Regions from separate parts of the Homo sapiens genome. Here regions 1, 3 and 4 are each linked to region 2. Evidence: promoter capture Hi-C in 16 types of primary human blood cells and fetal thymus (Javierre and others, 2016). All regions are on one chromosome and are shown on one strand. The core of a region is centred on a gene start or on the middle of the fragment in contact, and the rest is flanking DNA. Distances in the headings are between cores, read along the strand shown. Region 1 holds the start of CCDC9 (coiled-coil domain containing 9). Region 2 holds the start of DACT3-AS1 (DACT3 antisense RNA 1). Region 3 holds the start of QPCTL (glutaminyl-peptide cyclotransferase like). Region 4 holds the start of DMWD (DM1 locus, WD repeat containing).

Evidence for each region. The method cuts DNA at HindIII sites, captures the fragments that hold promoters and counts their contacts. A CHiCAGO score of 5 or more calls a contact.
Region 1: a contact is called between the fragment with the promoter of CCDC9 here and the fragment with the promoter of DACT3-AS1 in region 2, in 3 of 17 cell types (fetal thymus, total B cells and total CD8 T cells). The highest score is 6.0, in fetal thymus.
Region 3: a contact is called between the fragment with the promoter of QPCTL here and the fragment with the promoter of DACT3-AS1 in region 2, in 2 of 17 cell types (total B cells and fetal thymus). The highest score is 6.7, in total B cells.
Region 4: the fragment with the promoter of DMWD here is called in contact with the fragment with the promoter of DACT3-AS1 in region 2 in 5 of 17 cell types (total CD4 T cells, erythroblasts, fetal thymus and 2 more); the score reaches 7.4 in total CD4 T cells.

What each region holds. Positions count from the first base shown.
Region 1 is chr19:47,253,116-47,258,054 of GRCh38, reverse strand. It overlaps CCDC9 (coiled-coil domain containing 9), which reads right to left and starts at 1,530. Exons shown (of 12, transcript NM_015603.3): 1 at 1,446-1,530. RefSeq lists silencers at 732-781, 822-1,061, 1,272-1,381 and an enhancer at 1,272-2,181. The HindIII fragment of the contact is 17,839 bases long and covers 1-1,887 here.
Region 2 is chr19:46,658,805-46,663,795 of GRCh38, reverse strand. It overlaps DACT3-AS1 (DACT3 antisense RNA 1), which reads right to left and starts at 3,432. Exons shown (of 3, transcript NR_040042.1): 1 at 3,388-3,432. DACT3 (dishevelled binding antagonist of beta catenin 3) reads left to right here and starts at 2,614. Exons shown (of 4, transcript NM_145056.3): 1 at 2,614-2,980. The coding sequence starts at 2,732. RefSeq lists silencers at 2,237-2,356, 2,567-2,816. The HindIII fragment of the contact is 2,055 bases long and covers 2,522-4,576 here.
Region 3 is chr19:45,691,416-45,697,017 of GRCh38, reverse strand. QPCTL (glutaminyl-peptide cyclotransferase like) reads right to left here and starts at 4,352. Exons shown (of 7, transcript NM_017659.4): 1 at 4,108-4,352; 2 at 3,462-3,605; 3 at 1,300-1,581. The coding sequence starts at 4,314. It overlaps SNRPD2 (small nuclear ribonucleoprotein D2 polypeptide), which reads left to right and starts at 5,065. Exons shown (of 3, transcript NM_001384647.1): 1 at 5,065-5,131. The coding sequence starts at 5,130. RefSeq lists enhancers at 3,645-4,195, 4,721-4,850, 4,861-4,990, 4,809-5,529. The HindIII fragment of the contact is 1,670 bases long and covers 3,275-4,944 here.
Region 4 is chr19:45,791,595-45,796,882 of GRCh38, reverse strand. It overlaps DMWD (DM1 locus, WD repeat containing), which reads left to right and starts at 4,038. Exons shown (of 5, transcript NM_004943.2): 1 at 4,038-4,567. The coding sequence starts at 4,127. RSPH6A (radial spoke head 6 homolog A) reads left to right here. Exons shown (of 6, transcript NM_030785.4): 6 at 777-1,170. The coding sequence ends at 1,014. RefSeq lists a silencer at 3,910-4,389. The HindIII fragment of the contact is 5,053 bases long and covers 2,781-5,288 here.

The sequences.
Region 1 (4,939 bases), core at 281-2,780, 600 kb before region 2:
GTATCCAACACTGCTCTCCTCCAAAGGCTGATTCTAGGCCAGCCGCCACACCCTGTGGTATGAGTGTTAGCCCGGGTTCCCTATCTCAAGAGAGTTCCAACTACAACCCCTCCAACCAGCCTGCAAAAGAAAGTTCCAGACCCACCTCCCTGTGCTCATCCTGGTGCCTCTCATATCCAGGCGAATATTCTAGCTCCACCAGGTAAGGTTCAGAAACATTCCCAATCCCACGCTCAAAGAAAGTCCGAACCCCACTCTTATTGGCTGCCCAAGCTCTCAGAGAACATTCCAAGCCCGCGCCTTCCTCAGGGACGTCCTAGTCCCGTCTCCAGCGCCCTACGGAAGGTCGACAGCCTCCCGCCTCCCCCGAAAGGATTCTGTACACAGGCCCAGAACTCACTGGCGAGGCTTCCTGGAACTGGCGTTTTGCCCCACTGAATACTCCACCCGCCCCAACAAGGACAAAACTACCCAGGCCCGCCCCAGATTTTCTGTGCAAAGCTCCAGCCTCAATCCGGCTGGGAATGCCAGGGCCACGTCCCCGACATCCTGGAAACCGCTCTGGCCCCGCCCACGGCTCGGGAAAAAACTTTCTGGCCCCGCCTTTCCCGCCAGACTTCTGGCCCCGCCCCCACCCATGGGCCATTAATGTGGCCCCGCTCCCGACTTTCCCAGCCACGCTCTTTCCCCGCCTCCTGGCTCGCAGGCAACAGCCTACACCCGCCCCTACCATCTCTTATTATTATTCCAGCCCCGCCCCCGGCCTGCCCAGTCAACCCTCTGGCCCCGCCTCCGATTGGCCTGGCCAACCTCCTGGACACGCCCCCTGACTCCCTCCCACACCTCGTTGCGTCAGCATCTGGCCCCGCCCATGGCTTCCCCAGGGTTCTGGCTCAACTCCCCGCTTCCCCGCCTCCCGGCCAACGCTCTGGCCGCGCCCGTGGCTCAGACGAAACTTTCTGGCTCCACCCCCAGCATTCCCCGCCAGCACCCTGGCCCCGCCCCCTGGCTCCCCCACTACATTGTGGCCCCGCCCCCGCCATTGCGTCAGCCTCTGGGTCCGCCCCCAACGTCCCGGCCAAGAATCTGGACCCACTTCCAGTAAGGCAAAACTTTCTGGCCCCGCCCACAGAGCTTCCGCCCGGCGTCCGAGCCCCGCCACACAGCTGAACAAGCAACACTATGGCCCCGCCCACAGTCCAGCCACAACTTTTAGGTCCCGCCCACAGCCGCCGGCCCAGGCTCTGGCCACGCCCCGCCCCGACCCTGCCCACCCACCCAACGGCCCGCCCCGCCAGCGCCCCTCCAGCTTCCCATGTGGGCGTCCTGTCCCCGCCCCCCGCAGAGAACTCCGACCCCGCCCGGGCCTGTTCGCACTCCCCGCCACGTGGGGCTTCAGGCCCCGCCTTCTCTGGGCGCGCTCCCGGCCCCCTCCCCCAGGTCACCTGTCCCGGAGACCCCGCGGCGTCCGCGACTCCGGCTCCGTCGGCCTCTGCGACCGCAGCTCCCGGGCCAGGCGCGTCACTTCCTGCCTGCACCACGTGAGGAAGGGAAATAAAGAGGGTCACTTCCGGTCCTGTGGGACCGTTTCCGGGAGCCTTAAAGGGGCCGCGCCTCCGCGATGGATGCGGGAGCGGGGCCGACTGGCCCCCCGGGTGTTCCGCAAGCTCATCCAACTTCCTTCTGCCTGAATTACCAACTTCCAGGAAAAGGAGACACCGTCCTCACTCCCTGGCCTCTACCTCTTTCTTCAAGCTGTTTCCGCCTCCAGCCCCTCATTCCTGGTTTCTATCAGTAGATGCCAAGCACTGGGCACTGACGCCTGGAAGCCTGGCGTGGTTCGAGCCCCCTCGTGCCAATGAAACCTTAGAGTTCGCTTTAGAAGCTTCAGATGTTCTACCGGCCGTGGGCGGTGGCTCACACTTGTAATCCCAGCACCTTGGGAGGCCGAGGCGGGCGGATCACCTGAGGTCAGAAGTTCGAGATCAGTCTGGCCAACATTGTGAAATCCCGTCTCTACAAAAAAAATTAGCCGGTTGTGGTGGCGCGCGCCTGTAATCCCAGCAACTCGGGAGGCTGAAGCAGGAGAATCGCTTGAACCGGGGAGGCAGAGGTTGCAGTGAGCCGAGATCATGCCACCGCACTGCAGCCTAGACGACAGAGCAGACCCCTTCTCGAAAATAAAATAAAATGCTGGGCGCAGTGGCTCACGCTTGTAATCCCAGCACTTTGGGAGGCCGAGGAGGGCGGATCACTTGAGGCCAGGAATTCGAGACCATCCTTGCCAACATGGTGAAACCCCGTCTCTACTAAAAATACAAAAAAAATCAGCCCGGCGTGGTGGCGGGCGCCTGTAGTCCGAGCTACTCCGGAGACTGAGCCAGGAGAATGGCGTGAACCCCGGGGGCGGAGCTTGCAGTGAGCCGAGATCGCTCCACTGCACTCTAGCCTGGGCGACACAGGGAGACTCCGTCTCAAAAAATATACATATACAAAAATTAGCCAGGCATGGTGGCGGGCGCCTGTAATCCCAGCTACTTGGGAGGCTGAGGCAGGAGCATCGCTTGAACCCGGGAGGCAGAGGTTGCAGTAAGCCGAGATTGCACCACTGCACTGCAGCCTGGGCGACAGAACGAGAGACTCCGTCTCAAAATAAAATAGGCCGGGCGCCGTGGCTCACGCCTGTAATCCCAGCACTTTGGGAGTCCGAGGCGGGTGGATCACCCGAGGTCAGGAGTTTGAGACCAGCCTGACCAACGTGGTGAAACCCTGTCTCTACTAAAAAATACAAAAATTAGCCAGGCATGGTGGCGGGCACCTGTAACACCTGTAATCCCAGCTACAGGCTGAAGCAGGAGAATCGCTTAAACCCGGGAGGCAGAGGTTGCAGTGAGCTGAGATCGTGCCATTGCACTCCAGCCTGGGCGACAGAGCAAGACTACGTCTCAAAAAAATAAATAACTGGCCAGGCGCAGTGGCTCATGCCTGTAATCCCAGCACTTTGGGAGGCCGAGGCAGGTGGATCACAAGGTCAGGAGTTCGAGACCAGCCTGGCTAACATGGTGAAACCCCGTCTTTACTAAAAATACAAAATTTAGCCAAGCATGGTGGCAGATGCCTGTAATCCCAGCTACTTGGGAGGCTGAGATAGAGAATTGCTTGAACCCGGGAGGCAGAGGTTGCAGTGAGGCAAGATCGTGCCACTGCACTCCAGCCTGGGCGACAAAGTGAGACTCCGTATCGAAAATAAATAAGTAAATGAAATCATAAAATATAAAATAAGGCCGGGCGCGGTGGCTCACGCCTGTAATCCCAGCACTTTGGGAGGCCGAGGCGGGCGGATCACGAGGTCAGGAGATCGAGACCATCCCGGCTAAAACGGTGAAACCCCGTCTCTACTAAAAATACAAAAAATTAGCCGGGCGTAGTGGCGGGCGCCTGTAGTCCCAGCTACTTGGGAGGCTGAGGCAGGAGAATGGCGTGAACCCGGGAGGCGGAGCTTGCAGTGAGCCGAGATCACGCCACTGCACTCCAGCCTGGGCGACAGAGCGAGACTCCGTCTCAAAAAAAAAAAAAAAAAAAAAGTATATATATATATATATATATATATATATATATATATATATATATATAAAATAAACGTTCAACCGATAGAATCAGTCGTTCATTCTCCCAAATCAGCATTGACTGCCAGGCTGCGTGCTGGGAGGAAAAGTTGGTGGGGGAACTGAGATGATGAACAAAGCTGACCCCATCCTTGTCCTCCTAAGGGAAGACACAAGTAAATGGGAAATAGCAGCACCTGTGGGAGATGCCTGGCAAGAGGGGCAGGAGAGGCCGGAGGGTGAGAGGCTGCCTGTGCAGGCCAAGGACACAACCTATGCAAAGGCCCTGTGGTGAATGAGCTTGGTGCATTCCCAAAACTAGAAGATACTCAAAGCAACAGCAGCTGAATAGCTGCAGAGTCCAGGAGGTTACAGCATTAACCAAAACTTAGACATAATAAAGCTAGTGTGACAAGCCGACCAGGCGCTGTGGCTCACGCCTGTAACCCCTGCTACTGGGGAGGCTGAGGCAGGAGAATCACTTGAACCTGGGAAATGGAGGTTGCAGTGAGCCAAGATTGAGCCACTGCACTCCAGCCTGGGCAACAAGAGTGAAACTCTGTCTCAGAATAAATAAATAAATAATAAAGGTATTGTGACAAATGATGATGAATGCTACAGAATACCCTCAGTTAAGGTGAATGACAGTTATAAGTGGACAGACCAGATTGCCTGTAGTGCCAGTCATTTTATTTTGTGATTTAAGACATAGAAAGTGGAAGTACCTGGTAATTCCTTACCATTTCTAAGGCTACTGTTCACAGCCTTTCAGAGATACCAATGAAACTTAATCCTCTTATAATTGTCCAAATAGCAATCTATGCATGTAACGAAATTCACTTGAGGCCAGTGCGGTGACTCATGCCTGTAATCCCAGAACTTTGGGAGGCCAAGGTGGGCAGATCACTTCAGCTCGGGAATTTGAAACCAGTCTGGGCAATAGAGTGAGACCTAGTCTCCACAAAAAAAATTAAAAATTAGGCCAAATACAGTGGCTCATGCCTGTAATTCCAACACTTTGGGAGGCAGAGGTGGGAGGATCATTTAAGGCCAGGAGCTCACTCAAGGTCAGCCTGGCCAACATAGTGGGACCCCCACCTCTCTCTCTCTCCATATATGTGTGTGTATGTGTTTGTATAAATATATATATATATTTTGTTTGTTTGTTTGTTTTTCTAAGACAGGTTTTGCTCTTTTTGCCCAGGCTGGAGTGCGATGGCGCAATCTCGCCTCACTGCAACCTCCGCCTCCCAGGTTGAAGCAATTCGCTGCCTCAGCCTCCTGAGTAGCTGGGATTACAGGCATCTGCCACCATGTCTGGCTACTTTTTTTTG
Region 2 (4,991 bases), core at 2,183-4,682:
ACTGATCTTTGATTACATGCTTCTCAGATCACAATTCTCCAGCTGTAACTTCTGTCTCTTCCCAAATGACACATCTCCCCTCCCTATTCTACCTTCCAGCCTGCAAGATCCACAATGCCCCTGGCTTACTTTTGCAAAAGTGTTTACTCAGTCTTACAACTGCAATTAGGATTGTCAGTTTTGTTCCCCTTTCTCAGCACAAATCACTACTCCCAGGGCCCCATCCCCTTCACTCGCACCACCAAAGCCTTTGGATGGAGCACTGTGCCCTACACGCCTTCCTCAAAGGCCTCTCCCAACGCACCACTCGATTTTTATGGGAACCTCTTCCCATCCCTACCATCTATAAATCAAGGTCTATGAGCTTCTGCAACTTCATTAACAGCCCCTGCATGGGACTCAGTCTCTGTAATCACAATTTTTTTTTTTTTTTTTAAAGATTGGGTCTTGCTCTGTCACCCAGGCTGGAGTGCAATGGTGCAATCATGGCTCACTGTAGCCTCAGCCTCCCAGGCTCAAGTGATCCTCCTGCCTCAGCCTCCTGAGTAGCTCGCACTACAGGTACATGCCACCATATCCAGTTTGTGTGCCATGTTTGGAAGCAACTGTTGCTTGTTGATTCTCCAGACATCTATCTTTCTTTCTCTCTCTCTTTCTTTTTCTTTCTTTCTTTCTCTCTCTCTCTCTCTCAATTTCTTTCTTTCTTTCTTTTTTTGAGACGGAGTCTCCCTCTGTTACCCAGGCTGGAGTGCAGTGCCACAGTCTCGGTGTGTGCCATCATGCCCAGCTAATTTTTGTATTTTTAGTACAGATGGGGTTTCGCCATGTTGGCCAGGCTGATCTGAACTCCTGAACTCAGGTGATCTGCCCGCCTCAGCCTCCCAAAGTACTGGGATTACAGACGTGAGCCACTGCGCCTGGCTGATTCTCCAGAAATCTTTTGGCATCATCATTAATAAAAGCATCAAGAAGTCAAAAAGGAAATCAAGTGATCCTCCCGCCTCAGCCTCCCAAGTAGCTGGGGCTACAGGTGTGCACCACCACACCCGACTAATTTTCTAAGTCTATTTTGAACAAGAGGAAGACTGAATAAAGGTTGTCTCTAATAAATTTCAAGACATTTCCCCCCGGAAACTTACTAGATTAGTTTTTAAACTTATTTGTCAAACCCTTCTGTGGCTCTTAATCCATGGAAGACACTGCTCCAAGTACCTAATACATTTCATTGAATCCTCAGAACAACTGTATGAGGCAGCCAGTATTATGATCCCGTGATCAGATGAAGAAACGGTGGCACAGAGAGGTTAAGTAAGTTTTCCAAGGTCACACAGCTGGAAAGTGACAGATCTGTGACTCACCCCGAGGAAGTCTGGCTCCTGGAGACTTTGCTGTCTATCGCCACTATCAATTTCTCTCCATCTCACCACCAGAAGGTCACTTCGTGCACGGGGAATCATAAAAGAGGGAATTTCTTGTATGATCTTCTGGGCCTTGGCTTTTAGGGAGCCAAGGTCTGTCTGAGAGATGAGTATGAATATTAGAGCTAGGTCTTGGAAGTTGGTAGAGGCAGGCTCGGCGTAGTGATACAGATTGGCCGCCTGAGGGTGCCCCAGCCCTGCTTGCGGAGCCTGGAGAGACAGCAGGAAGCCTTGGAAACGAATGTCAGGCTCAGACTCCTAGGACCAGAGAACGTTGAGAATAGAGCATCATAGAAGGCTGAGAACAAAGCCCCTTAGAACGTAGAACAAAGGCCCCTGGAATGGAAGAATGATGAGCACACATCCTCCTAGCACCTGGGAGACAAAAGCTGCTTAGACTCTCTTCTGGTCAAAGCATAGAATCTTCCACCCAGGGTCTTATAATTCCAGAATTTGGAATGCAATCGATCTTAGACTCTTAGCAGCAAGACCGGCTACATATTTGGCCTAGTGCAAAGTGAAAATAAGGGGCCCCTTGCTCAAAAACTAAAAATTTCAAGACAGAAATTGCAGAACATTCAACCAAGCGCGAAGACCCTTCTAAGTGGATTCCAAGCCGGTGAAGCCGGCCCTAAGTAGAAACAATTTCATCGGAGGACGTCCGTCTGGTTTTACAGCTGAGTGTCTGGGAAGGCTTCTTGGAAGAGGAGGCGAAGTCAGGGCTCGACCCCCTAACCCTTTTCTCCCCCTGCGCAGCCTCAGAAGCTGAAGGTTGGGCGGGGTGGAGGGGTAGGAGCAGCTGCCAAACTGTCACGTGTACCCATTCCCTATTTATAGATCACCCTTCCCCTCGCGCCGGACAGTCCAATGGTAGCCAGCGCTCGCCCGCAAGAGGGTGGAACCTGCTGCAGGACCGGCCAGGCACAGACCAATGGCATTGAAGCAAGGGCGGGCTTGTTTCATTGTGACGCGTGGGGGGGCGTGGCCAGGGCCCCGAGGCAGTTGCACGGAGGGGGCGTGGCGAGCGGAGTGAGTAGGCAGTTGCGAGCATGCGTCGTGTTGGGCGGTGCGGTTGCACGCCCGAGAGTCTTCGTCAGGAAGCTTATTCGCCAATAGGCGGCTGTTGCTCGGTCGCCGGGGGCGTGGCCATGCAGATAAGGCGCGGGTGGGCGGCCCAATGGGCGGGCGCCTATGCAGATGAGACGGTGACAGCCCGGCCAGCGGGCGGGCGGGCAGGCTGCTGGGGCGGGGAGGTGGGACCGGGAGAGGGGTGGCCGCGGGGCCCGGCCGGGCTGGGGCGGGGGGCCGCAGCCATGATCCGGGCCTTCTCGTTCCCGGTGAGCCCTGAGCGGGGCCGGCTGCGGGGCTGGCTGGAGGGTAGCCTGGCCGGGCTCTGCGAGTTACATTGGCTCCGGGAGAGGCAGGAGTACCGCGTGCAGCAGGCGCTGCGGCTGGCCCAGCCCGGAATGGGGGGCGCCGAGGCCGAGGACGAGGAGGACGCCGATGAGGATGAAGATGCGGCGGCGGCGCGCCGGGCCGCAGCGGCCCTGGAGGAGCAGCTGGTAAGGGGCTGCCTGTCCGTCCGTCCCTCCACCCCCGTCTGTGTCTGTCTGTCTCGGTTGGATGCTCAGACACCGGGCGGGGGTTGGGGACCCGGGTAGGCAGGGAGTGAGAAAGGACAGGGGGTGGGGCTGGCGACCCCGGAGTTCCGGCGGCGGGCCGGACCTGGCCTCCCCGCCCCCAAATCGGGGGAGGGGGAACTGCATCGCCCCCACTGGGGCCTCGTGAGAAACACAGGCCCTGTCTCTTACACCCCTTCCCCAAAGAAAATCCTTGTGGGCGCCAAGTATGTGTCAAACCCGAGACCGGGTACTTTGCAGGCGTTGTCTTCTTGCGGCTTGGGAAACGGGGTGATAGTCCCCATTTAACAGAGAAACAAATTGAGGCTCAGAGAGAGCAAGCGACTCACCCAAGGTGACACAGCCAGGCTCCAAACATGCCCTTCTCTGGGCCCCGCCACCAGGGCTCCATCTTCCCTAAGTCCTGGTGTGCTTGGAGATCTCTGGAGGGGGCGGGGTGGGAGGAGGGGAATCTCAGGGCCTCCAGAGGGAGGGACCACTGCTGAGAGGAAGCTCACAGTCCCTGAGGACCCCCCACTGGGATCTTGACCCTTTGGTGACACTTCCCCTGCTTCCTACCTGGCCCCAGCTCTCCTTGACCCAAGGGGAGGCAGGTCGAGGCAGCGCCTGGGGGAGACTTCTGGACTCTGGGTGTTCTCATGGTGGAAGATGGGCAGAGGTCTCCGGAATGACTTGAGGACGCCCCATGCCTCTCCCCTTTCTATGTCATTCCTTGAGTCTCCCGATCTCGTCCTGGGTTCTGTCACTCTCTCCGTCCTGCCACATCCCTGTGACTTTCTGTGTCTGCTTCTCTTTCTTCATCCTGTCTCTCTGTCTCTGTGATCTCTGTGTCCCTCTGCATCTGTCTCCTTGGCCTTCCCTTCCTGCCTGTCTGCACCTCGCTCTCTTCTTCTTGCCCGACGTCCCAGGCTCAGTCTGTCTTCCCCTCCCCCCAGCCCGCACACCCTGGCTCCACGGCAGATCCCCATCCCCAAGCCTGTGTGTGGCCAGAGCTTCCCGTTTCGGGAAACCTGAGCCGAGGTGGCAGTGGAGGGGGCTCTCCCCGCCGCTGACCTCGACCGCCCCCTCCCCAGATGGGGAGTGGGGAGGAAGACTGAAGCCAGGCTCCCGGGGCTGCACGCCCGGCCCCTCCCCCTCTCAGGAGTGGGACCCCCCTGCACATTCTTTTCTGGAAACAGAAACAGCTGTGGGAGGCCCCACCCCCTCCCAAAGTTAGAGACGGATTGTGGGGGCCTTCGCTAGCTCCCCCCACCCCAAGCTGGCTCGGCTTGGAAGGCGCCTTCCATCCTGACAAGGAGAATGCGAGGCATGAGGTTGGGGTAGCTGTGGGTAGCTGTGTCCTCTCCCCCTCTGCCCTCGGTCTCTCCCCTTTTCACCCTTCACCTTCCCCATCTCTGCCCTTCAGTCTCCCTCTCCTCGGTCCCTCTGTCCCCTCCTCCCCCTCAGCCCTCTGTCCTCCCGGCACGAGCTGATAGTGGAGAGGCCTGTCCCCCCACCCCCCAGTCTCTAGGCAAAGCTTGTCCCAGCATCAGGGAGGAGGCGGTGGCAGGCGGGGGGAGGAGGAGGAGCAGAGAAGCGCTAAATATAAACTTCTCTAGTGCTGGGGGTTCCTGGGTCCCTCTGAAGAGTGGATTAGGGCTTCTTCTGATCCCCCAACCCTTGTCTTATGACTTATCCCCCCACCCCCAGCCCCTGCCAGGAATACACTTCCTTCAAGGCAAGAAAGACTGAAGCCAGACTTGATTACTTTCTAATAGGAATGATGGGGATACCAGGTAAAGATCAGGGGTGTGGCAGAGAAGAGAGGCAGGAATCCTGGGTGAGGGCAGGGGCTCCCTGGGTCCTGCTTGCTCTCAAGAAGGAAAAAGGTTCCTTTCATCAAGAATAACTTAAGTTAGACTTGCAGAATGACTTCCTAATAGAGATAAATGGG
Region 3 (5,602 bases), core at 3,103-5,602, 970 kb after region 2:
CTCCCAAGTAGTAGGATTACAGGTATGTACCACCATACCCAGCTAATTTTTGTATTTTTAGTAGAGATGAGGTTTCCCTGTTGGACAAGCTGGGCTCGAACTTCTGACCTCAAATGATCTGCCTGCCTCGGCCTCCCAAAGTGCTGGGATTACAGGTGCGAGTTACCACGCCCGGCCGGGAAGGCCTCTTTGAAGGGGTGACATTGGAGTGGACACCTGAGTGAAGAGTGGGAGCCAGCCAGGAAGATATCTATGAAAAGCATATTCTTTTTTTTTTTTTTAAGAGACAAGGTCTCTGTCACCCAGGCTAGAATACAGTGGCACGATCATGGCTCACTGCAGTCTCAAACTCCTAGACTCAAGCCATCCTCCCCTCTCAGCCTCCCAAGTAGCATGCCACTACTCCCAGATAATTTTTTTTTTTTTTTGAGATGGAGTCTCGCTCTGTTGCCCAGGCTGGAGTGCAGTGGTGCAACTTTGGCTCACTGCAACCTCCGCCTCCCGGGTTCAAGCAATTCTCTGCTTCAGCCTCCCGAGTAGCTGGGGTTACAGGTGTGCACCACCAAGCCTGGCTAATTTTTGTGTTTTTGGTAGAGATGGGGTTTCATCATGTTGGCCAGGCTGGTCTTGAACTCCTGACCTTGTGATCCACCCACCTCAACCTCCCAAAGTGCTGGGATTCCAAGTGTGAGCCACGGAGCCTGGCCAGAAAAGCACATTCTATCCAAAGCAAACAGCAAGTGCAGATGCCCTGAGGTGGGAGCAAGCTCTGCGGGTTTGAGGAACCCAGAGGAGGTGGGGGTGGCTACAGCAGAGTGAGCAAGAGGTGAGGGGTGGGAGATGAGGCTGGAGAGGTAACAGGGCACAGCTCGTGGGCCAATATAAGGACTCTGGATTATGGCTGGAATGAGGCGGGAGCCCTGGGAGGGTTTGGGGGAGAGGAAAGAGAATCTGACATCTAGAAGGTAAAAAGATCCCTGTGATGACCAGGCGCGGTGGCTCACGCCTGTAATCCCAGCACTTTGAGAGGCCGAGGTGGGCAGATCACCTGAGGTTGGGAGGAGAATTGCTTGAACCCAGTAGGCAGAGGTTGCGGGGAGCCAAGATCTCGCCATGTGCACTCCATCCTGGGGAACAAGAGCGAAACTCCGTCTCAAAAAAAAAAAAAAGATCCCTGTGGCTCTGTGCGTGGAGTAGAGTGGGAAGACGAGAGGGATGACAAATGTCCAGGCAAGGGAGGGTGGGGGCTTGGGAAAAGGTGGAGGTAGCCCACTACCCTCCCCGACTCCTGCTCCTCACCTGTTTTTTGGCCCTGCTCAGCTCCAGGTCAAGTGCTTGGGCCAGCTCCAGCAGCAGGGCACAGGGCACAGCCGAATCCGTGGCCCCTACAAAGGGGGTCGATCCGGGTGGGAAGAGCTTCGAGTCATAATGGCAGGCAAGGGTGAGGTGACGGGCAGCCCTTGGGTCCAGTGTGGCCACCACATTGCCAAAGTCCACTGGCCCCAGGGGTGTTGAGGCTGTGAAGGGATCCAGCTCCACGTGCCAACCTGCTGTCAGGGACCGCAGCGTGGCCTCCAGGAACTAGCGGCAAGAGAGAGGTGGGAGGGTGGACGGGGACTGGGGAGGAGGTGGGGAGAAGGGCCACGTGACCTGAGCCATGCAGAGCAGATGGGTTGACACTAAAGCCCCACTCTGATTGAATGGATTTCTTTCTTTCTTTCTTTTTTTTTTTGAGATGGAGTCTTGCTCTGTCACCCAGGCTGGAGTGCAGTGGCTTGATCTTGGCTCACTGCAACCTCTGCCTCCTGGCTTCAAGTGATTCTCCTGACTCAGCCTCCTGAGTAGCTGGGGTTACAGGCGCCCCCTACAACGCCTGGCTATTTTTTGTATTTTTAGTAGAGATGGGGTTTCACAATGTTGGCCAGCCTGGTATTCGAACTCCTGACCTCAAGTGATCTGCCTGCTTCAGCATCCCAAAGTGTTGGGATTACAGATGTGAGCCACTGTGCCCAGCCCCCTACTCTGATTAAAATCATTCCCTTGACAGTGCTGGTGAGTACCTACTGGGTGCCAGATGTTGGGGAGACCCCACCTCTTGAAGCCAGCAAGACTCATCACAGCTTACCCTTAAATAGCTCTCACTGTGTGCTAAGCCCTCTTCTAGGAACCATTTAGGGGAGGGACTGCCAATACATGACCCCATTTTACAGATGAGGAAATGGGCTCAGAGAGGTTAAGAAACTAGTCCAGGCCGGGCGCGGTGGCTCACGCCTGTAATCCCAGCACTTTGGGAGGCTGAGGTGGGCGGATCATAAGGTCAGGAGTTTGAGACCAGCCTGGCCAATATGGTGAAACCCCGTCTCACTAAAAATACAAAAAATTAGCCAGGCATGGTGGTGCACACCTGTAATCCCAGCTACTCAGGAGGCTGAAGCATGAGATTTGCTTGAACCTGGGAGGTGGAGGTTGCAGTGAGCCGAGATCGCGCCACTGCACTCCAACCCAGGCGACAGTGTGAGACTCCATCTCAAAATAAAATAAAATAAAATAAAATAAAAAAGAAACCAGTCCAAGGTCACAATCTAAGTGGATGAGGTAGCATTGGGACTCAGGCAGTATTTAAGTGACTTTTTTTTTTTGAGATGGAGTCTCGCTCTGTCACCCATGCTGGGGTGCAGTGGCGCAATCTCAGCTCACTGCAGTCTCCGCCTCCTGGGTTCAAGTGATTCTCGTGCCTCAGCCTCCCAAGTAGCTGGGACTACGGGTACCCACCACCACGCCTGGCTAATTTTGTATTTTTAGTAGAGATGAGGTTTCACCATGTTGGCCAGGCTGGTCTCAAACTCCTGATCTCGAGGGATCTGCCTGTCTCGGCCTCCCAAAGTGCTGGGATTAGAGGTGTGAACCACTGCGCCTGGCCTTTAAATGACTCTTCATGCTTTCTGGAAGACAACAGATACATTACAGCACCAGCTCGGAGCCAACCTGTTTGGGTTCAACTCTAGGTCTATGATTTTCTAAACATTGGGTCTCACTAGGTTGACTAGGCTAGTCTCAAACTTCTCAGGTGATTCTTCCACCTTGGCTTCCCAAAGTGCTGGGATTACAGGCATGAGCCACTGCACCCGGCTAAGGTCTACTACTTATTATCTGTAGGATTTGTGCAATGTGTATAACCTCTCTGAGCCTCAGTTTCCCCATCTGCATAATGAAGATCATATTGGTACCCACCTTATAGGGCTGTCTGTTGCCTATGCCTAGCACACAGTAAGCTTTTGGTGGGGGCATTAAGGGGGGCAGTACAGCCTGGTGGTTTGTTACCAGCATGGAGTCTAGAGTCCGATTAACTCCAGTCAGAGCCCCAGTTCCTCCTCTTAGCTTCTTTGGGATCTTGAACAGGATTCTTATTTCCCATTCCCTGGAGGGCTAGGGGGTCAGGGACTGGAGGTGGGTCCCTTTACCTTTCTGACTTGGAGATTTCCCGGGCTGCCCGGGGTTCGCACAACCAGCAGGGGGCGCAGATAAGTGCTCCAGAGACGCTGTGGATCCAGTTGTCCCACCACCCTCCGCAGCCGGGCTTCGGGGAGGCTTCCGATCAATGGGACCTTGGGAAGGAGGTGGGATAGGGAAGGGAAGAATGAGAGCAACCCCCCCATTTCAACCCTACCCCGGGCGCCGTCACCCGCGAGGAGCCCCGGGTTCTCTTCCTAATCTGCCGCCTCCAGCATCGGAGACTTCTAGGATAAATCCAAGGCTCAGGAAAAGTCCTTCCAAGACCATCCGGTCCAGCCTACCTCAAACTTGATGGGGAAATCGAGGCCCAGTGAGAGAGAGGGGAGATGGAGGAAGGGACTCTTCCAAATAGTTGACTAAAGGCGTAGAACCCTGAACCCCCCCGTCTTACTATTTCAGACCTTTCCTCTTAAAAGGAAGCTACTGTTGCAGAACCAGCCCGAAGCCTTATTCCTTTGGTAAGGGTCATGCGCTCAGATGACGAAGACGGTGGCATCTGCGGTTAGGGCCGTACGCTAAAGCCACGTCAACCCTGGGTAACAGCGGGGAGGGAATGAGGGTCCCCGCGGTGCCCGGGTCCCCGCCCAGCCTCACCCGCAGCTCCCGGCCCAGCGGCAGCTCCTCAGTCCTGCGGTGCCAGCCGCTCCAAATGGTGTAGAACGCCGAGCCCACGGCCAGCGCCAGCAACAGAGGCAAGAGCCGAACCCGCGGTAGCAGGCGGCGCTTCGGCGGCAAGAGTGGCTCCATGAGGCCACGTTCCCCCAGCCGCAGGCGGGGTCGCCCGCGGCCCCCGGAACGCATGGCCGCTTTGCCCTGAAACCTGTACCAGACCACGGATTGAGTTTAGGCCCAGCCAAGTTCCTCCCCATGGAATCGGTGGGCCAATAAGCAACAGCTGCGGCTGCACCAGCCCACCCCACAGCGAGCAGCGAAACCAATAAGAACTACGGTCCTGAGGACACGCCTCCCAGCCTCCCTTAGGTATTGGGGTTGGTTCCCCTGAGAATGGCACGACCCAAATGGGAGCGCAAGAGAAGTAGGCTCCGCCTTAGCGGAGGAGGGAAAGCCAATGAACAGCGTTTGATCATGGAAAATATTCGATCTCCCGGGCGCAGGTCCATGCCCCTTCCGGATGTAGGCAGGGGATTGGTGGCGCAGGGTCGGAAAGATCAGTAGATACGTCAGTAACGCGTCCCAGAGGGAAGAGGGGCGGTGCCTGTCTCCGAAGCGAGGAGCGGATTGGCTTCACGGAGGCCGCGCCCCCGAAGTCACGGCCGGCGGGCATTTGGAAATAGCTTGTCATTTCCCTCCTTCAACCTGTACCATTCTTCAAGAAACGGTTTGAATCAGACTGCCTTTCCTTTTGTCTTCATTGTCATAAACATCTGCCCCCGTGTGGTTCTGACTGGCCGCGAACCCCTACCCGAAGCTTTTATTCCATCATTGTGCACCGTTGGTGGGGAATGCTGTGGCAACAGGCCACGCCTCCACTTACTGGTTGGCTTTGCGCAGGCGCCAACGGAAGTGGGTCGCAGGAAGAGGAAGTCCCGCCTCTCTCTCCTCAGGCAGCAGCAACGCGGAGGAAACGGGAGTGAACGGAGAGCGTAGTGACCATCATGTGAGGCCGGGCTAGGCTTAGGCGGCGGGAATGAGGTTGAGGGTGGATATTTGACCGATTGAGTGTGGGAAGGGTTGAGCAGAGCGGGGGGGGCAGGGGCAGATGTTTTAGGGATGCAGCGTCCTGCTTTTCTCCTGATGAGTTTGAGAACGGGCGTGGGGCCTTTGACGCATCGTGACTTCGGGAGAGGGGACAGCTTTATCAGATAACGCCCTGGGCTGGGCGCGGGGGCTCATTCCTGTGATCCCAGCACTTTAGTAGGCCAAGGCGGAGCATCGCTGGAACACAGGAGTTCGAGACTAGCCTAGGCAACATAGCGAGACCCCCGTCTCTACAAAAAAAAAAAAAAATTTAATTATGAAAAACATGTTTTAAACGATAACGGGAGTGGTCCTAGATAATTAGTCCTATTGAAATGAATGTTAAGGGGCAGCGATTTTACGAATACTGGGGGAGGCCGAGCGCGGTGGC
Region 4 (5,288 bases), core at 2,789-5,288, 870 kb after region 2:
GATGTCAGGAGTTCAAGACCAGCCTGGCCAACATGATGAAACCCCCTCTCTACTAAAAATACAAAAATTAGGCCAGGCATGGTGGCTCATGCCTGTGATCCCAGCACTTTGGGAGGCTGAGGCAGGCAGATCACTTGAGGTCAGGAGTTTGAGACCAGCCTGGCTAACATGGTGAAACCCCGTCTCTACTAAAAATATAAAAATTAGCTGGGCGAGGTGGTGTGTGCCTGTAGTCCCAGCTACTTGGGAAGCTGAGGTGGGAGAATCACTTGAACCCAGGAGGCAGATTTTGCAGTGAACCCAGGAGGTGGAGTTTGCATCCAGCCTGGGTAATACAGAGGAACCCAGTGAGCACATTTCACCCTGCCATCCACAACTTTGCAGTCATGCTATGCACATGCTGGGTCCTACCCTTAAAGAAAGTCAAGGCTGGCCAGGTGCGGTGGCTCACGTCTGTAATCCCAGCACTTTGGGAGGCCGAGGCGGGCAGATCATGAGGTCAGGAGTTCCAGACCACACTGGCCAACATGGTGAAACCCCATCTCTACCAAAAATACAAAAATTAGCTGGGCGTAGTGACGCGTGCCTGTAGTCCCAGCTACATGGGAGGCTGAGGCAGGAGAATCGCTTGAACCTGGGAGGCAGAGGTTGCAGTAAGTCGAGATCACACCACTGCACTAGGCAACAGAGTAAGACTCCATCTCAAAAAAAAAAAAAAAAAAGTCAAGTCTGGGGCCTTTGAGGGAGAATTTCACAGTGTCTCACTGCTTCTCCAGAAAGTTTGAGAACATCTACATCGGCTGGGGTCACAAGTACAGCCCCGAGAGCTTCAACCCGGCCCTGCCAGCCCCCATTCAACAAGAGTACCCCAGTGGCCCAGAGATCATGGAGATGAGTGACCCCACAGTGGAAGAGGAGCAGGCTCTGAAAGCAGCCCAGGAACAAGCCCTGGGAGCCACAGAGGAGGAGGAGGAGGGCGAGGAGGAGGAGGAGGGCGAGGAGACAGATGACTGAGGCCCACCCTCTAGCCACTTTCCCCAAGCAGGTAGATAGCAAATTTCCCCTTAGAGGTAGTTAGCATGGATTATATTTTCACTATGTGCTTCCTGTCCCCAGAGGGCAGGGATAGAAAAGGAAGGCAACTGCTTCAAATAAAATTCCTCCACGGCATTATGGATGAGCCATTCATTCATTTGTTCACCACCTCTGTTGACATGGACTCCAAGCCAGGGCTGTTGGGCCCTGCAGAGAGCACAGACATTGCCTGGCAGAGTCTCTCCCACCTGTTTGGTTTTTGTTGTTGTTGTTTGAGACAGGGTCTCATTCTGTCACCCAGGTTAGAGTACAGTGGCACAATCTCAGCTCCCTGCAGCCTTGACCTCCTGGGCTCAAGCAGTCCTCCCATCTCAGCCTCCGGAGTAGCTGAGACCGCAGGTGCACATCACCACATACACTAATTTTTGTATTTTTTGTAGAGACAGGGTCCTGAGTAACTAGGACTGCAGGCACAGCCCACCATGCCCAGCTAAATTTTTTCAATTTTTCAGAGTCTCACTATGAGATGGGGTTTATGTTGCCCAAGCTGGTCTTGAACTCCTGGCATCAAGCGATCTGCCTGTCTTGGCCTCCCAAAGTGTTAGGATACAGCTGTGAGCCACCGCGACCAGCCCCACCTGTTTTATTTATTCATTTACCTAGCCATCAAACCATTATTGAAATACCTCCTGTCAGCCCACCCCTGTGCTGGGGACACAGACAGCTGCAGTCCTGCCTTCCTGGACCTCACAACACTATAGGGAGAGAGACTCATTTCCAGACAGTGACAGCCCAAATGGGGAAGCCCAGAGGACTGACAGAGCTCCCGAGCCAACTCTTAAAGGGTCAAGAAAAGAATGGGGAAAGGCATTCCAAGAATAGGGAACAGAATGTGCAAAGACCCAAGGACAAGAGAGAGTGTGATATGTTGGGGTAGTTTTTCAAGCCTCATTTTAGGTGGTGGATAGTGTGAGGAGTTAGTGGTGAGATATGAGATTGAAAAGAGGTTGGCAGGGGCCAGATCACTTGGGGCTTAACTTTCCCCTGAGAGCACTAGGGAGCTACAGATGGGTTTTGAGCAGGGGAGGGCCCTGATCATATTCATGCTTTAGAAAGACCTCTCTAGGCCTAGTGCAGTGGGTCACACATGTAATCCCAGCACTTAGGGAGGCCAAGGTTGGCGGATCACCTGAGGTCAGGAGTTTGAGACCAGCATGCCCAACATGGTGAAACCCCGTCTCTACTAAAACTACAAAAAAGTAGCTGGGTGTGGTGGCAGGTGCCTGTAATCCCAGCCACTCAGGAGGCTAAGGCAGGAGAATCACTTGAACCCAGGAGGCAGAGGTTGCAGTGAGCCAAAATCGTCCCATTGCACTCCAGCCCACGTGACAAGAGCGAGACTCTGTCTCAAAAAAAAAAAAAAAAAAAAAAAAAGCCGGGTGCAGTGGCTCATGCCTGTACTCCCAGCACTTTGGGAGGCCGAGGTGGGTGGATCACCTGAGGTCAGGAGTTCGAGACCAGACTGGCCAACATGGTGAAACCCCGTCTCTGAGCCGAGATGGAGCCATTGCACTCCAGCCTGGGTGACAGGGTGAGACTGTCTCAAAAAAAACAAAAACAAAAACAAAATAAAACCTCTCTACATGCCAAGTGAAAGGTGGAAGTGGGGGTGAGACAGAAATCTGGGAGACCAAGAGACACGGTTGATGTGGGGGTGGGGGAAGGGCTTGGGTAGAGGAGAAGCTTGGATCAGGGAGAACAAGGAACTGAGAAAGAGGAATTCCACGTGGTCGAATGCAAAAGACTTGGAGGCTGTAAGCGGGGGCAGAGTGAAGATAAATGGTACACATCTAGGAAGACACCCAGGTCTGTGGCCTGGTTGACTGAGTGGACGGCAGAGCTAGCCCTAAGGTGGGGATGCAAGAGAGGTGGAGGATTTGGTGTAAGACGTCAATTTCATTGTAGGATTCTTTTTTCTTTCTTTTTTTTTTTTTTTTAGAGAGACTGAGTCTGACTCTGTCCCCCAGGCTTTAGTGCAGTGATGTGAATTCATAGCAGTCTTGATCTCCTGGGCTCAAACGATCCTCCCACCTCAGCCTCCCAAAGTGCTGGGATTCTCGGATTCCAGGCATGAGCCACCATGCCCGAACCATTGTAGGATTTTTTTTTTTAAGTGTGAGATGCCCTTGGGACACTCTAGGGAGAAATCGTAGAGGCCATTGACTACATGAGACTAGAAAGATCTATGATGGGGCTGGGTGGCTTCAGCAGACATGGGGAGCACTGGCTATGAGTAGGAGCTGTTGGGATCAGGGGGAGACTTTGGGTTACGAGTGGATCACTGGGACACTGGGGCACCGTGGGGATCAATACAATTTGGGAATCAGAGGTAGGTTTTGGAGGACAAGTGAGGTTGTTGAAAATAAGAAAATCATGGAAATATACATTGGAGGTTGGTGGAAAATATGAAGGATGTTTGGAGTTAGCATTAATCAATAGTGGGTCAGAGGAAGTCCTCTGAGTTGTGTGGGGACACAGGGATTTGGTGGGTCACCAAGGGTGGGGAAGAATGGTAGCAGATGCTGTGGTCATTCAGGGATTTGAATATGTCAGTGGGAAACACTGGAGGTCAGGGGAGTGTATATTGGGCGTCTAAGGAGAGACCAGGGTCACTTGGGGTTGGCTGTGACTTCATGGGAAGGCTGGACTATGGATGAGGGCTTCTTTGTCGTGGGGGAAAAAAAAAAAAAAATCCCTCCGTTGCTAGGCAAACGTTCCCAGGGCGCGGTTGCTAAGGACTTGAGCTTTCTAACTGGCCACGCCTCTTTCCATTGCGGGCTCCGCCCCCGCAGCCAACCACAAGTCGGTCACAGGCTCAAAGGCCGCGCCCACCTTCTCGCCCCGCCCACAGTCCCAGCACCGTTACCCGAGCGACCGCGGGGATTCGTCCCGCCTCCGGATCTGGGTGCCAATCGAAGAGGCGTTGCCCGGGCGACGACCCCACCTTTTCCGGCGCGGGCCAGCGGCTTCCGGGAGGGGGCCCGGCTGCGGGCGGCAGTCCGGCAGTGGCGGGGCCCGGGGGGCGCCCAAGATGGCGGCGGGCGGCGCGGAGGGCGGCTCGGGCCCCGGCGCCGCCATGGGGGACTGCGCGGAGATTAAGTCGCAATTCCGCACGCGCGAGGGTTTCTACAAGCTACTCCCGGGCGACGGCGCCGCTCGCAGGTCGGGTCCGGCTTCCGCCCAGACTCCGGTGCCGCCTCAGCCACCGCAGCCCCCGCCCGGCCCTGCCTCCGCCTCCGGTCCCGGCGCTGCAGGCCCCGCGTCGTCCCCGCCGCCCGCAGGCCCCGGACCCGGGCCCGCCCTGCCCGCCGTGCGCCTCAGCCTCGTGCGCCTCGGGGAGCCGGACAGCGCCGGGGCCGGGGAGCCGCCCGCCACGCCCGCGGGGCTGGGCTCGGGGGGAGACCGCGTCTGCTTCAACTTGGGCCGTGAGCTCTATTTCTACCCAGGCTGCTGTCGTCGTGGGAGCCAACGGGTGAGCGGCCTGCATCGTGGGGCCCTGGGTGCTGAAAGGATGGAGGTTCCAGAGAACTGATAGGAGGGTCCCCGAATTGATATGGGGCCCTGAGATAGGCATTCTAAATGTGATGGACGTTGTAGGGCGACAGCATTGGAGGGAGTACAGGATTCTGAAATGTGATGAGAGGCCCGCGGGGTGCTGGGCAGGCATCTTGGAGGTGATGGGGGAAATCCCCTTTACCCCCGTTATGCGTAGGAGTTCTGGGATGGTGACTATTGGACATGATGGGGTATCTGAGATGAGGTGGGATCCCCCGGGTTCTGGGGTGGCAGGCATTCTGCAGGTAATGGGGAATCATGAGGTGATGCAAGCCCAGAGGTGATGGAGAACCCAGTATTGCAGCCTGGAGGTGTGGGAGAGGGGTCTTGAGATTGAGCCCAGGAATGAGGAGAAGTCTAGAAGTGATGGGGGCCTTGAAGGTGATAGGGGATCCAGAAGCTGAATGGGATTCTAGAGAAAATTGGGGTCTGGAAGTCATGAGGGTCCTGGAGGAGATGAGCGTCCGGAAGCTGATGGGAGCTCTCAAGGGAATGAGAGGCCCTGGCAGGGGAATCTGCAGGTGTGATTCAGGACATCTCTAAAGCGATGTGGTGAGAACCCTGGCCGTTTATGGTGATCCCAGAAATGATGGGGATCCTTCGGAGCCCCTAGGTAATAAATGGGCCTAAAATGTGGG